2 separate regions of the Homo sapiens genome follow, and region 1 is linked to region 2. The links are contacts of gene promoters, found by promoter capture Hi-C in blood cells and fetal thymus (Javierre and others, 2016). All regions are on one chromosome and are shown on one strand. Each heading gives the region's core, a stretch centred on a gene start or on the middle of the fragment in contact. The rest is flanking DNA. Distances are from core to core; before and after follow the strand shown.

Evidence for each region. Contacts are between HindIII fragments. The CHiCAGO score rates a contact against its expected background, and 5 or more counts as called.
Region 1: a fragment that was not itself captured here is called in contact with the fragment with the promoter of TMEM68 in region 2 in 1 of 17 cell types (M0 macrophages); the score reaches 5.5 in M0 macrophages.

Annotation. Positions count from the first base shown.
Region 1 is chr8:56,564,950-56,571,784 of GRCh38, forward strand. LOC105375850 (a long non-coding RNA gene) reads left to right here and starts at 298. Exons shown (of 3, transcript XR_928912.3): 1 at 298-338; 2 at 1,336-1,432; 3 at 1,611-1,755. The HindIII fragment of the contact is 3,502 bases long and covers 1,111-4,612 here.
Region 2 is chr8:55,769,421-55,775,790 of GRCh38, forward strand. It overlaps TMEM68 (transmembrane protein 68), which reads right to left and starts at 3,958. Exons shown (of 8, transcript NM_001286657.2): 1 at 3,849-3,958. It overlaps TGS1 (trimethylguanosine synthase 1), which reads left to right and starts at 4,026. Exons shown (of 13, transcript NM_024831.8): 1 at 4,026-4,299. The coding sequence starts at 4,199. RefSeq lists enhancers at 2,860-3,363, 4,135-4,464 and silencers at 3,585-3,714, 3,805-3,994. The HindIII fragment of the contact is 10,724 bases long and covers 2,506-6,370 here.

The DNA of each region.
Region 1 (6,835 bases), core at 1,612-4,111, 790 kb after region 2:
TAACTGATGCACAGGTGCTATAGTTTTAATGTCCCCTCCAAAACTCATGTTGAAATGTAATTGCCATTGTAACAGTGTTGAAAGGTGGGACCTTTAAGAAGTGATTAGGTCATGAGGGACTCTGTTTTTGTGAATGGATTAATGCCATTATTGTGAGGCTGGGTTCCTGATAAAAATGGATGAAGTTCCAGCCCCCAACCTCTCTCTGACTCATGCACTCTCGCTTCGGGCTCTCTCACCATGTGATGCCTTCTGTCATGGTATGATGCAGCTAGAAGGCCCTCACCAGATGCAGCCCCTTAATCCTGGACTTCCTGGCCTCCAGAACTGTGAGCCAAGTAAATATCTTTTCTTTATAAATTACCCAGTCTGAGGTATTTTGTTATAGCAGCAGAAAATAGACTAAAACGACAGGTATCCCTAACTTTTGGTAGGCCCCAGAACAATTTCTTGTAGTTGCTGTGGTATAAGTTCATGTTAAAAACCTGCAAGTTCTGAGACAGTGCATCAGTTCTCCCAGAAGTCAATGCAGCTTGCAGGTGTTGCATGGAGAAAGGAAAAGCACAGCTTGGCCATTGAGAGATTGTTTTGTTTGTTTGCTTATTGTGTTTGCTTGCACATGTTATGAAAATTAAATTAATTTGAAAATCCCTTTTTGAATGGATGATTTAGAGATAATATTTCAACATAAAAAAGATATATGTGTACTGAAAGAGTAAAATGAAAAATAAATGAGATCTGACATCCTCTGTTAGTGCATTTTTTACATTTATTCTCCATTCCATTTGATGTATTAAGGCTTTTTGGCTGTGAGCTTAATGATAAGCTCACAATCTTCCCCAGGAAAAAGCAATTTGAAAGTGGTTGTGGCTGAAGGCACATTATGATGGCAGAAAATCAAATAGAACACTGACTTCCATTTAAGATTGTCAGCTTGATGAATAGAGTGATGTTGACTTAAAGCAGACAGGACCTGACAGAGACGGTCTATTCCCAACAGGTGGAAGGCATGTGGAATGATTAAATAAAACATATTTGGTCACTCTATCCTAGAAACTATGTATTTCACAACTTTTGAACATACAGAATTAAAACAAACTAATACCTAGAAGCTTTCAAGCCAAATCCTCTTTAAATAATGTCCATTTTGATTAAGTTTGTAATCATGTACATATTTTCTCCTTTCTTCTTTGATGGAAATTTTGATTCTTTGCAAAATTTTTTACCTAATTTATTATTCAAAAATAATATGCTTTTTTGTTAACAATTTTATTTTCTAATTTGGGATGCAATCCTAATCTTGTGTGATTAACCTTGTACTTTGTGATTTTTCAGATATTATATTTGTGGATTTTCATAGTTCTTGACTTCTTATACAATCGGAGAATTAGTGGAGGCTGGTTATAAGTAGTAAGCATGACTCAAGTTTAAGGTATGAACCCTGCAGACTTACCAGTCAAACAAGATTGGAAAAATATAGGAGTCAAACATTTAAACTATTAATATTCACAGTTTCTAATGTATTTATTTAAACATTTCTTTCTCCCTCCTGCCCCTGCTTCTCTTACCTCTCTTCCTTTACGTAAAAAAAATTTTTATTGAATTCTTAGTGTGTGTCAAACTGGAGATGGAGGAATAAGAAACACTTGGCAACTTCAAAGCTCTCACTTTCTTCTGGAGGAAGAGACAGATAAGTGTAGGTATATGCAAAATGACACTCGCGATAGACTTAGTAAGCATGCTGGCAGAAGTTTGAAGAGCTTCACAAGATCATGGAGGAGGAACTTTGCTTAAGGAAGTCAGAAAACATAGATGAAAATGATGATTACATGGTTTCATTTATTTATACCAAAGAGTGTTACATACTTGGCATCTGTCTATTTAAACATTTGAGAGGAAGATAAAGATGAATGAAGACTAACTTCTGAAAGACTAAGTTCACCGGAGAAAACAATTAATGGGTTAAATATGTTTTATTTGTATTGAAGTATCTCTGTTTCAATGCAAGAAACAGAAGAAAGGGTGTGGGCAACGTGGGGATTCTGTAAGTTGGACATTTGAGGGCACAGAGGAACGGCTTATACAAAGGAACATACGTAAAGTGAGTAACACACACCTGGCATCATGGAAGAGGCCATGAAGAGGGATGAAATATGAGTAAAGACTACAGCTCGTGGTATGAAACCATTGTTTAAATACTGTTTTCAAAAATTTTTATGTTTCAAAGTTTTTATTATGGACAATCTCAAATAGGTGCAAAAGTAGAGAGAATAGTTTAAGGTCTAATAGTATTCGTATAATAATAGATAACTCTGCCCCCATCAAGTGCTCATCATCTGACTTCAACCAGTCTTATTTGATGCATACTCCCCTTCCTCCACCACAGGATTATTTTGAATTCCAGACATCATAGAATTAATTGCAGCTATAAATGTCTTTGTATTTATCTTTATAAGGTAATTCTTTTTTTCCTAAAACCATAAGATGCAAACATTATCTTATCTGAATTATTAATAATGAGTTCTAAATATTATCAGATTATCTAGTTAGTGTTCAAATTGTCACATGCATTTTTTTTTTCCAGTTGCTTAGTTTGAATCAGGATCTGATATGGTTTGGCTGTGTCTGCACCCAAATCTCATCTTGAATTGTAGCTTCCATAATTCCCACACGTCATGGGAGGGACCCTGTGGGAGGTAATTGAATCATGGGGGTGGGTCTTTCCCATGCTCTTCTCTTGATAGTGAATAAGTCTTATGAGACCTGATGGTTTTATAAAGGGGAGTTCCCCTGCACAAGCTCTCTTGCCTGCCACTTTATAAGATGTGCCTTTGGTCCTCCTTTGCCTTCCGCCACCATTGTGAGGCCTCCCCAGCCATGTGGAACTGTGAGTCCATTAAACCTCTTTTTCTTTATAAATTATTACCCAGTCTTGGGTATGTCTTTATTAGCAGTGTCAGAACAGACTAATACAGGATCCAAACAAGGTTCACTGATTATATCTGGTGAATATGTAGCTCTAATCTGTTTTCATCTACAGGTGTCCACATCCTGACATTTTTGGTTCCCAGCAATTCATTTATGAAAGAAAATAGGTTGTCATGTAGCATTCACTACATTCTAGACTTTGATGATTAGTATGATGAGTGTAAAATCATGCAAATATACAATTAACATGCTCTTCTAGATTGTAGATAGATCTAGATGCCTAATCAGATTCTATTCAATTTTTTTGGCATTGATACTTTCCAGGTGGTGGTGTGTATTTCTGAGAGGAGGCACACAATGTCATATTTGGTAATGTTAAGATTGATCAATGAGTTCCTAGTGTATCAGCCTGATTCATCCACTGTGATCTTACATATCAACTTTTCATCTTATGGTTTTAGTAACTAAAAACCATGATTGCCTAAGTCCATTATTTCATTGGAGGCTGATAATGGCAATATTCCAATCCAGAGTAGATAGTAAATCCCACCAAGATGTGATTCTGAATGGCTGGATTCATGGTCCAGAGTGCAGCTAGTGAACAACTCTGTGTGGCCTGAAAAACTGGGATTTTTCTTTTTTTTTTCTTTTTCCTTTTTTTTTTTTTTTTAAGATGGAGTCTCGCTCTGTCTGAAGTGCAGCGGTGCAATCTCGGCTCACTGCAAGCTCCACCTCCCGGGTTCACGCCATTCTCCTTCCTCAGCCTCCCGAGTAGCTGGGACTACAGGCGCCCGCCACCACGCCTGGCTAACTTTTTTTTTTGGTATTTTAGTAGAGACGGGGTTTCACCGTGTTAGCCAGAATGGTCTTGATCTCCTGACCTCGTGATCCACCCGCCTCAGCCTCCCAAAGTGCTGAGATTACAGGCGTGAGCCACTGTAATTAAAAGTAGAGTAATTTCTACTTATATAGTGGCAGGCAAGAGAGCTTGTGCAGGGGAACTCCCCTTTATAAAACCATCAGGTCTCATAAGACTTATTCACTGTAGAATCATATGTAGAAGAAAAGTATGCATTTCAATACCCTTCATAGATTCAGTATCTCCTTAGCGTAGTCCATTAGTAGCATTTGAAGCATAATTCCACATCTGAATTTCTGCCAGTGAGATGTGCTGCTGTTGTTAGATGATTTGGTAGTGTTCCTCCATTCATTCCTACCAGCTCCTGCTTAAGTATTATTTGTTTACTATATTCGTGTATTTTCTTATTTTTAATTAATGTACTTATTTTTGGAAGAAAATACCACTGAGGAGCATGGCAATAGTATCTCATGTGGCAATATTAGAATACCAGAGCCGATAACATTCCGAGCATCCCTCTGTGAATGCATTGGTGAAAACAGCCATCCCACAGTGATATGTCATTGAACACCGCCTTGTTAGCCTACCTTGAGCCTTCCTAGATGGCCACATATAATAGATTTCAATAATATGTGCAAATTGGTGTTTGACATTTGTAGTCACAAAGGGAAAACATTCAGAGTGACTCATGCTGCTTTTTAATGCTCTGCTGTCACTGTCTTGAAATTCTTTTAAGCTCTTTTGCTACGCCACTAGCATATAGCATTTGAGATGCCTCATGAGTCCAGAATTCCCATGGACCCACGACAGGTAGGATTTCAGAGAAGCTTAGAGTGAGGACAAAGTAAGCTGGGGCATTGACTCTCCCCAAAGGCTAGTCTCTGTTTGAGCCAGGACTTCCTTTGAATGCAGAAAGAAGCAAATGGTTTGCATTGACTCTCCCCAAAGGCCAGTCTCTGTTTGAACCAGGACTTCCTTCGAATGCAGAAAAAAGGAAATGGTTTTCTAAGACCAACAGACCCTTTGATATCCTTTTTTACTGGTGTTACTTCTTTGTATTAGCCATCACTTATGCTGACAAGGATGACATGGGGTGATGATATTGTTCTTTTCCCCTTCAATCCTTCCTTACTTATCCATAGCCTAAGGTAGAGTGTTGGTAGAGTACATACACACCAAGAGGTGAAATGAACACAGTTGAGTTAACTTTGTGTAGTTTCCTTTGTTCTGGTAAGAACAAAATGCACATGCATGCATGAACTACAAAATGAGAATTGTGTAATTCTGGTGATTCTGCATCCAAGTAAGCTGTTCTTATATTTGCATTTAAAACAATATAAAAATGCATAATAAAATTTGTGCTAATAATTTAATGTTTTAATTTTCTTTACTTAGAGCAACATTAAATAGCAAATAAAAAACATCTTCACAAGCCAAGTCAGAGACCATAAAATAAAGGAAAAAGTTTTATATTTTGGTACTTTCAATGGCACTTTGGGGCCTGCATTTTGAACAAGGGGTCCCACATTTTTATTTTTCACTAGGCCCTGCAGATTCTATCGCCAGTCCTGTCTGTAAGAAACTACCAAGTTCTGTGATAACGTTTTCCCCTTGATGTCACACTTGAGTAGTTTTCTCTTTTCTCCTAGTTATTTTGACATTTTGTATAGTCCTAGAAAGACTGACTTAATGAATGACTTGTCTCATATTTAGTCTGCGCAATGGACTGAATGTGTATGTCGCCCACCAAATTCATATGTTGAAGCTCTAACACGCAAGGTGATGGTATTAGGAGGTGGGGTTTTTGGAAGGTGATTAGGTCATGAGAGTGGAGTCCTCATGGATGTGATTAAAGCTATTCTGAAAGGAATCCCGGAGAGCTCTCTTTCTCTTTCTGCCATAGGAGGACACAATGAGAAGAGAGCGGTCTGCAATCCAGAAGAGGGCCCTCGCCAGTACCCAGCTCTGCTGGAACCCTAGTCTCAGACTTCCAGCTTTCAGAACTGTGGGAAATAAATGTCTGTGGTTTCCAAGCAACCCAGCCTATATGCTTTGTTATAGCAGCCAGAACTGACTAAAACTGGTAAAAGGGTGCTTCTAACCATACAAATTTTAAGCTGTTTCAAGCTCTCTGCAGGCCACACAAAGGCCATGGTCCAGTCAGGATGTTTAATTGGATGGGATATTCTCATGAATTAATTACCCAACTGTCTTATTTTTATATTTAAAATATTATATCCAAATAAGAACACAGATCCAGGTTTTTATTTACAGCCAAGAGAAAAGTGCAAGCAATTCCCTAGGGTAGTCCATGTCAAAGCAAAACAAAACAAACAAAAAGCTCCTCTTGCATGTAAAGTGGTCAGTTCTTGCAATGCTCCCTTCTGATAGTGGAATTTATGGTTAAAATTAGACTTCCCATTGATCAAATTATGCTTTAGCATTTCTTGGAGAGTAGCAAAAAATATGTTTCTCAGTTAGGCTATAAACAAAAATCTATAGCAATTAACTTAATTTTTAGTTAAAAATTGTGGTAAAAGTTTTAACTTAATTTTTAAAGAGAAACAAACCCCCAGGAGACACAAATTCTCTGACACCTTGATCTAGGACTTCTAGCCACCGGAATTGTGAGAAAATAAATTCCTGTTTCTTAAGCTATCCAGTTGTGGTATGTTGTTATAACTCTAGCAAACCAGTAATTTCACTTCTTTTGGGTATTTACCCAGAAATGAAATTGCTGGATCATGTGGTAATCCTCTATTTAATTTTTTAAGAAATTGCTGCATCATTTTCTATAGCAGCTGCAGCATTTTACATTCCCACTACTAATGCACAGGGGTCCAATGTCTCCACATGCTCGTCAATACTTGTGATTTTCTATTTTCTTAAGTTTTAACTTTTGGATGATAGCATCCTAGTGGGTGTGAAATAATATCTCATTGTGGTTTGATTTGTATTTCCCTAATGGCTAGTGATGTTAGCATCTTTTCGTGTGCTTGTTGATCATTTGTAACCTTATTTGGAGAAATGTCTATTTAAGTGCTTTGC
Region 2 (6,370 bases), core at 2,708-5,207:
GATAATTGTTAGAGCTCTGTCCTTGACTAGGCCAAAGGGGACAGGATACAATGTACAAGTGGATGGCCCTGAGAAGTTTGTGCCAGATACTATTCTAAATATATCAGTAAATAAAATAGTTATCTAAGAAAACATACGAAAAACACTTACTTTCTGGCACATAGTAGGCACCTAACAAATGCTGGCTAAATATACAACTGAACTGTGTTCGTCTAAAACTTTTTTTTTTTGAGACAGAGTCTCACTCTGTCACCCAGGCTGGACTGCAGTGGCTCGATTTCAGCTCACTGCAACCTCCACCTCCCAGGCTCAAGCAGTTCTCATACCTCAGCCTCCCGTGTAGCTGGGACTACAGGCAAGCACCACTGCACCCAGCTAATTTTTGTATTTTTAGTAGAGATGGGGTTTTGCCATGTTGGCCAGGCTTGTCTGGAACTCCTGGCCTCAAGTGATCCGCCCGCCTCCACCTTCCAAAGTGCTCGGATTGCAGGCGTGAGCCACCCTGCTTGGCCTCATCTAAATCTTTAACAGAAATCTGGATCAAAACAGTATCCTAAAACCTGCTACTAGAGAACTATCAGAGGAATTTGAATAAAATGCCTTTCAGTAGATAAAATGTAGCACTTACTTTTGATAATATGACAAAGTGTCTTTAAATCTCAATGCAACCCCTTAATTGTGCAGATAACAAAAAAAGTAAACACAGAAAGCCAAGTTTGCTTGCTTAAAATTACTAAATTAATTCAGTAAAAGCCAAGAACTAAAATTAAAATCTAGTCATCTTACCTCCTGGTCTGGCTTCCAACACACTTTCTTTGATATATCTCTCTTTTTCTCTCTTGACAGAAAGAAAATATTAAGATTGCAATTTCTGTCTTCCCTATACTTCTGCCTGGCCCTTCCCCTTCCCCCTGAATTTACCTGGGGGTGTAACTGACTTCTTATCACTTTATTTTAATCCAAGAAAAATGACATGGGCCAGGGTGGCTCACGCCTGTGATTCCAACAGTTTTCGAGGCCAAGGTGGAAGGACTGCTTGAGTTCAGGAGTTTGAGACCAGCCTGGGGGCAACATACTGAGACCTTGTCTCTACCAAAAAAAGGTTCGCCAGGCATGGTGGCACGTTCCTGTAAGTTGCAGCTACTTGGAAGGCCAAGGCAGGAGGACTGCTTGAGCCCGTGGAGTGAAGACTGCAGTAAGCTATAATGATCACACCACTATACTCCAGCCTGGGCAACTGAGCAAGACCCTGTCTCGGGGGCAGGGGGGAACTCTATGTACTAGAAGATGTTTTGGGGGAAATACAATATTTTAGTTCTCAAAATTCCAGGTTATTTTCTACAGCCCCCTGCTCCTAAAAATCTAAAATAAACACAGTCTAATGCATCACATATAAAGTATCTTAATTTCCCTATCTGGAAATCACGTAACTTTTGTAAAAACAAGTAGACAAGGCCACGCGCGGTGGCTCATGCCTGTAATCCCAGCACTTTGCGAAGCAGCGGCAGGAGGATCACCTGAGGTCGGGAGTTCGAGACCAGCCTGACCAATGTGGAGAAACCCTGTTTCTACAAAAAATACAAAATTATCCAGGTGTGGTGGCGCATGCCTGTAAACCCAGCTACTCAGGAGGCTGAGGCAGAAAATCGCTTGAACCCAGGAGGCGGAAGTTGCGGTGAGCCAAGATCGCACCATTGCACTCCAGCCTAGGCAACAAAAATGAATCTCCGTCTCCAAAAAAAAAAAAAAGTTGACAAGCTCAAATATCACCATATTGACATTGATGGTGAGGATATGGACCTTACAGATGTTTAAAATCAGAGTATTTCAAAAACTAATAAATCAGAACAGAGAACTTTTTGGCTTTCAATAAAACCTTAAGAAAGTGTATCTATTTTAGGCTGGGCTCAGTGGCTCATGCCTATAATCCTAACACTTTGGGAGGCTGAGGCAGGCAAATCACTTGAACCCAAGAATTCAAGACCAGTCTGGGCAATATGGCAAAACCTTGTCTCTACAAAACACACACACACACACACACACACAAAATTAGGCAGGCATGGTGGCATGCCTGTAGCCCCAGCTACTCGGGGGGCTGAGGTAGGAGGATTGCTTGAGCCTGGGAGGTAGAGGTTGCTGTGAGCCGCGATCGCGCCACTACACTACAGCCTGGGTGACAGAGCAAGATCCTGTCTCAAAAAAAATAAATAAATAAATAAATAAAGTATATCTATTTTGAACACCCATTACCAGTACTTTTCCATTTTACTTTTAGTATATAAGTCACATTGAGAACATTCTGAAAATGCCAATTAAAAGATATAGTCACTGAAAAACAAGTTTTCCTGTTTCCTTTCTGCATATTTAATAATGGTTTAACAGAGATACAGCACTGTTTTACTGAATAGGACTTCTACTTCAAACCATGAATAAAGCTGCAATTTAGTATTTGTCAAGATAGCTGGTAAATCTAATCCTTTTAGCTTTAATACTTTTTTTATTTCAAGCTTTAAACTCGAGGTTCTGATACAAATTACCCTTCAAGACTTTTCTTTAATCCTAGAATGCCCAACTTCTAGCTAAAATCTTCCACTCTGTTTCATAATTACTGTTCTACCCTTATTATCGTAACCCAGCTACTCATCCCAATAATGCTGCACATCTATACTGGTATATCTGTAACCGTGCAGCACTCTTACCTTCTTGAACCAACAAAATCAGCCTATCTCCGACCTCAAAGTAGGGCAGCAGTAAGGAGGTGGGAATAAACATTTGAAAATGAATATTTCCACTAACTAGTAAATGTGGCCAAAATACTATTGAAAATACCATTCAAAATGCATGAATTTTAGCTCAGTTTTTATATAGTTCTGAAGAAGTACCAATACTATTTTGGCATTTCGTAGCACCAACCACGTCCGAAGCGCTCCAACTTTCAAGTCTGAGCTTGTCTCTGAAGAAGTTGCCCGTGCAGCCTCCATGAATACCACACACCAAATACTAACTGCTTTTTAACAGATCCAGCAACGCTGCTGTTTCCATTTTCTCCATCCTATTTATGCCCACATGAACTTTTTTCTTATTAGATAATTAGTAACTTGAAGGCAGAGACCTGTTTTACAGGCTGCAAACCCCAGGGACCGAGACAGCACTTAACGCCTACAAGGTCCAAACCGACGCCAACGATTAAGCGCACAAAGGAAAGGTGTAATATACATCATTTCGTTTAGTCCTCCCTGCAGCCTCATGTAGTAGTTACTATTAATCAACCCCATTTCACAGGTGATCAAAGGTAAGCTCAGAAAGGTGAAGTTGCCTGCCCAGGTCACAAGGTAGGACCAGGATTCCAAGCCTGATCGGTCTGGATACGAACGCTCTACCCACGCGGCTTTCCCCCTACACTCTCGGGATCACCACACACTTCCCCTTGGCTTTTACACCGGAGGCTCGACCTGGGTCCCGGAACCAGCGAAGCCACTGGGCAAGCCTAGAGGCCTCTACAGAGGCTAGAGACGCCTCGCCCCACCAGATGCATTAGGATGAAACGCGCCGAACCGAAGGTTTAGAGCGCCAGGGGAGAAGAGGGGCGGGGAGAGCAGGCTCTTTGACCCAGAGGAGGGAGGATCTCCACACCCGGCCACTCTGGCGCTGGGGCGCAACACTGAGGCCGGCGGGAAGCCGAGCCTGCCCGCGAAGAGACTGGGGATTCCGAGGCGGCTCCTGGGAGACCGGACGCGCGCGGCCTCCGCCGCTCCCAGTCCCGCCAGACCCGATGCCGGGCTGGAGAAGCGCGGGGGCCGACGCACCTCGGATAGGCGGGGGCAGGGGCAGGGGCAGCTCTCCTTTACCCTAGAGCGGCGACAGAAGCTCTTCGGGGGATCAGTGGCCAAGGGGGCGGACAGATTTGCACGGCGGATTCCTCCGAAGCAACCCGTGTGAAAGAAGCCAAGCGGCGGCTGCAGCCCGGGCCGCGATGGGGGTGACACCGCCCGTGGTCCCGCCCCTTCCCGTGGCCCCTCGGAGCCACTTCCGGCGGCAGCGTCCGGGCTAGTTCCCGGCGCGAGCGGCCGCGGGCCAGTTTCTATCTCCTCATCCAGGGCTTGCGGGCGAGGCCTGTTTTAAGTCTCCAGTAACCGAGCGGAGGCCCGGCAGGCGCGACCCGGGCTGCGTACGTCAGAGCTGCCTCCGAAGTGGTAAAATGTGCTGCGAGAAGTGGAGCCGCGTGGCGGAAATGTTTCTCTTCATTGAGGAGCGGGAGGATTGTAAGATACTGTGCCTTTGCTCCAGGGCATTTGTGGAGTAAGTAGAAAAGAGAATCTCTTCATGTTCTAGCACAGTCATTACCCAGAAATGTAGGTATTGCAAACGTGGTTGTAATTGATCCCTGAAAGCAGCCAGAACATCTGACCCTTGGGCACGGTGATGTTTAAGAAAAACAAAACCCTCAGACATGACGGAGTGGTCGCCCACTGCCATTATTTTTATGTGAAGGACTACATCTACTTGGTAGGCTGCTATGAAAAAATGTCGTAGGTGCTATATGTCATCTCATATTTGTAAATCGAGGGGACATTTAAAAATTGGGGGAAAGCGACATGTAAAATGAAATCTCTAGTAGATATGATGTCATAAAGTGAAAGTTTAAAGTTGAGTGACTTGCTTTGGTTAACGTCTTTTTTTAAACCTAAAAATCTACTTAAGCCCAAATGCACATAATTAAAACTTCAAACTAGTTGAGATAAAAGACTTAACCATATTTACATCAGTTTTTGTGATATCTTTATTTTGGGGAAATCTTTGAATCAGGTAAAAATTGCCCCACATGAAAAATAGCTAGTATGCAGGAATAATACCGCCAAGAGACTTGAATTCTAGGAATTGTTTCCTTTATATTAAATGCGTGAGTTAAACCACTTGAACCTTTTTTTCATCTCTATAACGGGTATATTTAATCTCACATGCTTATTTTGTTAGAGTTAAATCCTTGTGGAAGTGAATTTTATGTGATAGACTTTTAATATAGTTTAATATAGTAGGATTTAAGTTTGAAGGAATTCATTTTTCTCGTGTAATTTTGTGGAGTAATTTGAAAACGCAAAAAGAAGTTAAACTTGTTAAATTTAATGTAAAAAGTATTGTCGCCTTTTTAGTCAGGCATGCATGTAGTCATACAATCATTCAGAAAATGTTTTTTGTGCTCTTGTATATCAAGTATGCTGGTAGGCACTGAGGTACAAGACATTCTGTCCTTACATGTATTGAGTTTACTTCCTAGCAGAGAAGATCAATATTAAGATAACTGGTTACATTATTACTTGGTTGATTATAGTTATAAGTGCTATGAGAGAGAAGTGCAGGATGCTGTGAAAACAAATAACTTTCCAAGGGTCACAGAGGTTTCTTTGAGGAAGTAGCTTTTGGAAAGAGGTCTAAGGGGGATAAATTGGGGTGAGTTTCAGTGGGAGAAAGCGTTCTCTGCAGGCTGAACTCAGTAAAGGCCTTGAGGGAGCAAAAGAAAGCCTGGGAAACTGAACAAAATGGCTGGGAGGGAGGGCACGGTGGTGCACACCTGTAATCCCACCACTTTAGGAGGCCGAGGAGTGAGGATCACTTGAGCCCGGAAGTTGGAGACTAGCCTGGGCAACATAACAACACCTCATCTGTACTGAAATTTTTTTTTAAAATTAGCCAGCTGTGGTGGCACATGCTTGTAGTCCCAGCTACTCTGGAGGCTTGGGCCAGATGCTCTCTTGAGCCCAGGAGATCCAGGCTGCAGTTAGCCATTGTCGTGCCTGGATGACAGAGCAAGACTCTGTCCCGAAAAAAAAAAAGAAAAGAAAAGAAAGAAAAGAAAAAAAACTGGGAAAGAAAGAAGATAGGGTGTGCACAGTAGGCAGGGTCAAAACCCGCAGGACTTTGTAGACTATAGGAAAACCTTAAGCTGGGGAATGACATGATCAGATTTGCATATTTAAAATACTACTCAGGCGGCAGTGTGGAGGATTGTTTGGAGGAAGAGAACCACTTAAGACCATTGTTTAGGCAAGAGATTATAGTGACTTGGATTAGGATAAATGGCAGCAGAAATGGAGAAAGAAAGAAAGATGGGAGAAAACTTGCTGGGGGTGGGGACTGAATTGTATTGCTGCCTTTCACTGAGGTAGGGATCACTGGAGAATCATGAATTTTATTTTGGGTCAACGGAGAAGAGATTATGAGTTTGATTTTATACATTTTGATTTGGGGGTATCTATGAGATAACCAAGAGTAGATGGTATAAGCAGTTAGATATATTGATTTGGAGCGCTGGAGAAGTCTGGGCTAGTTTTAAAAACTTGAGCCATTTAGCCTTAGATAGTGATTGAACCCA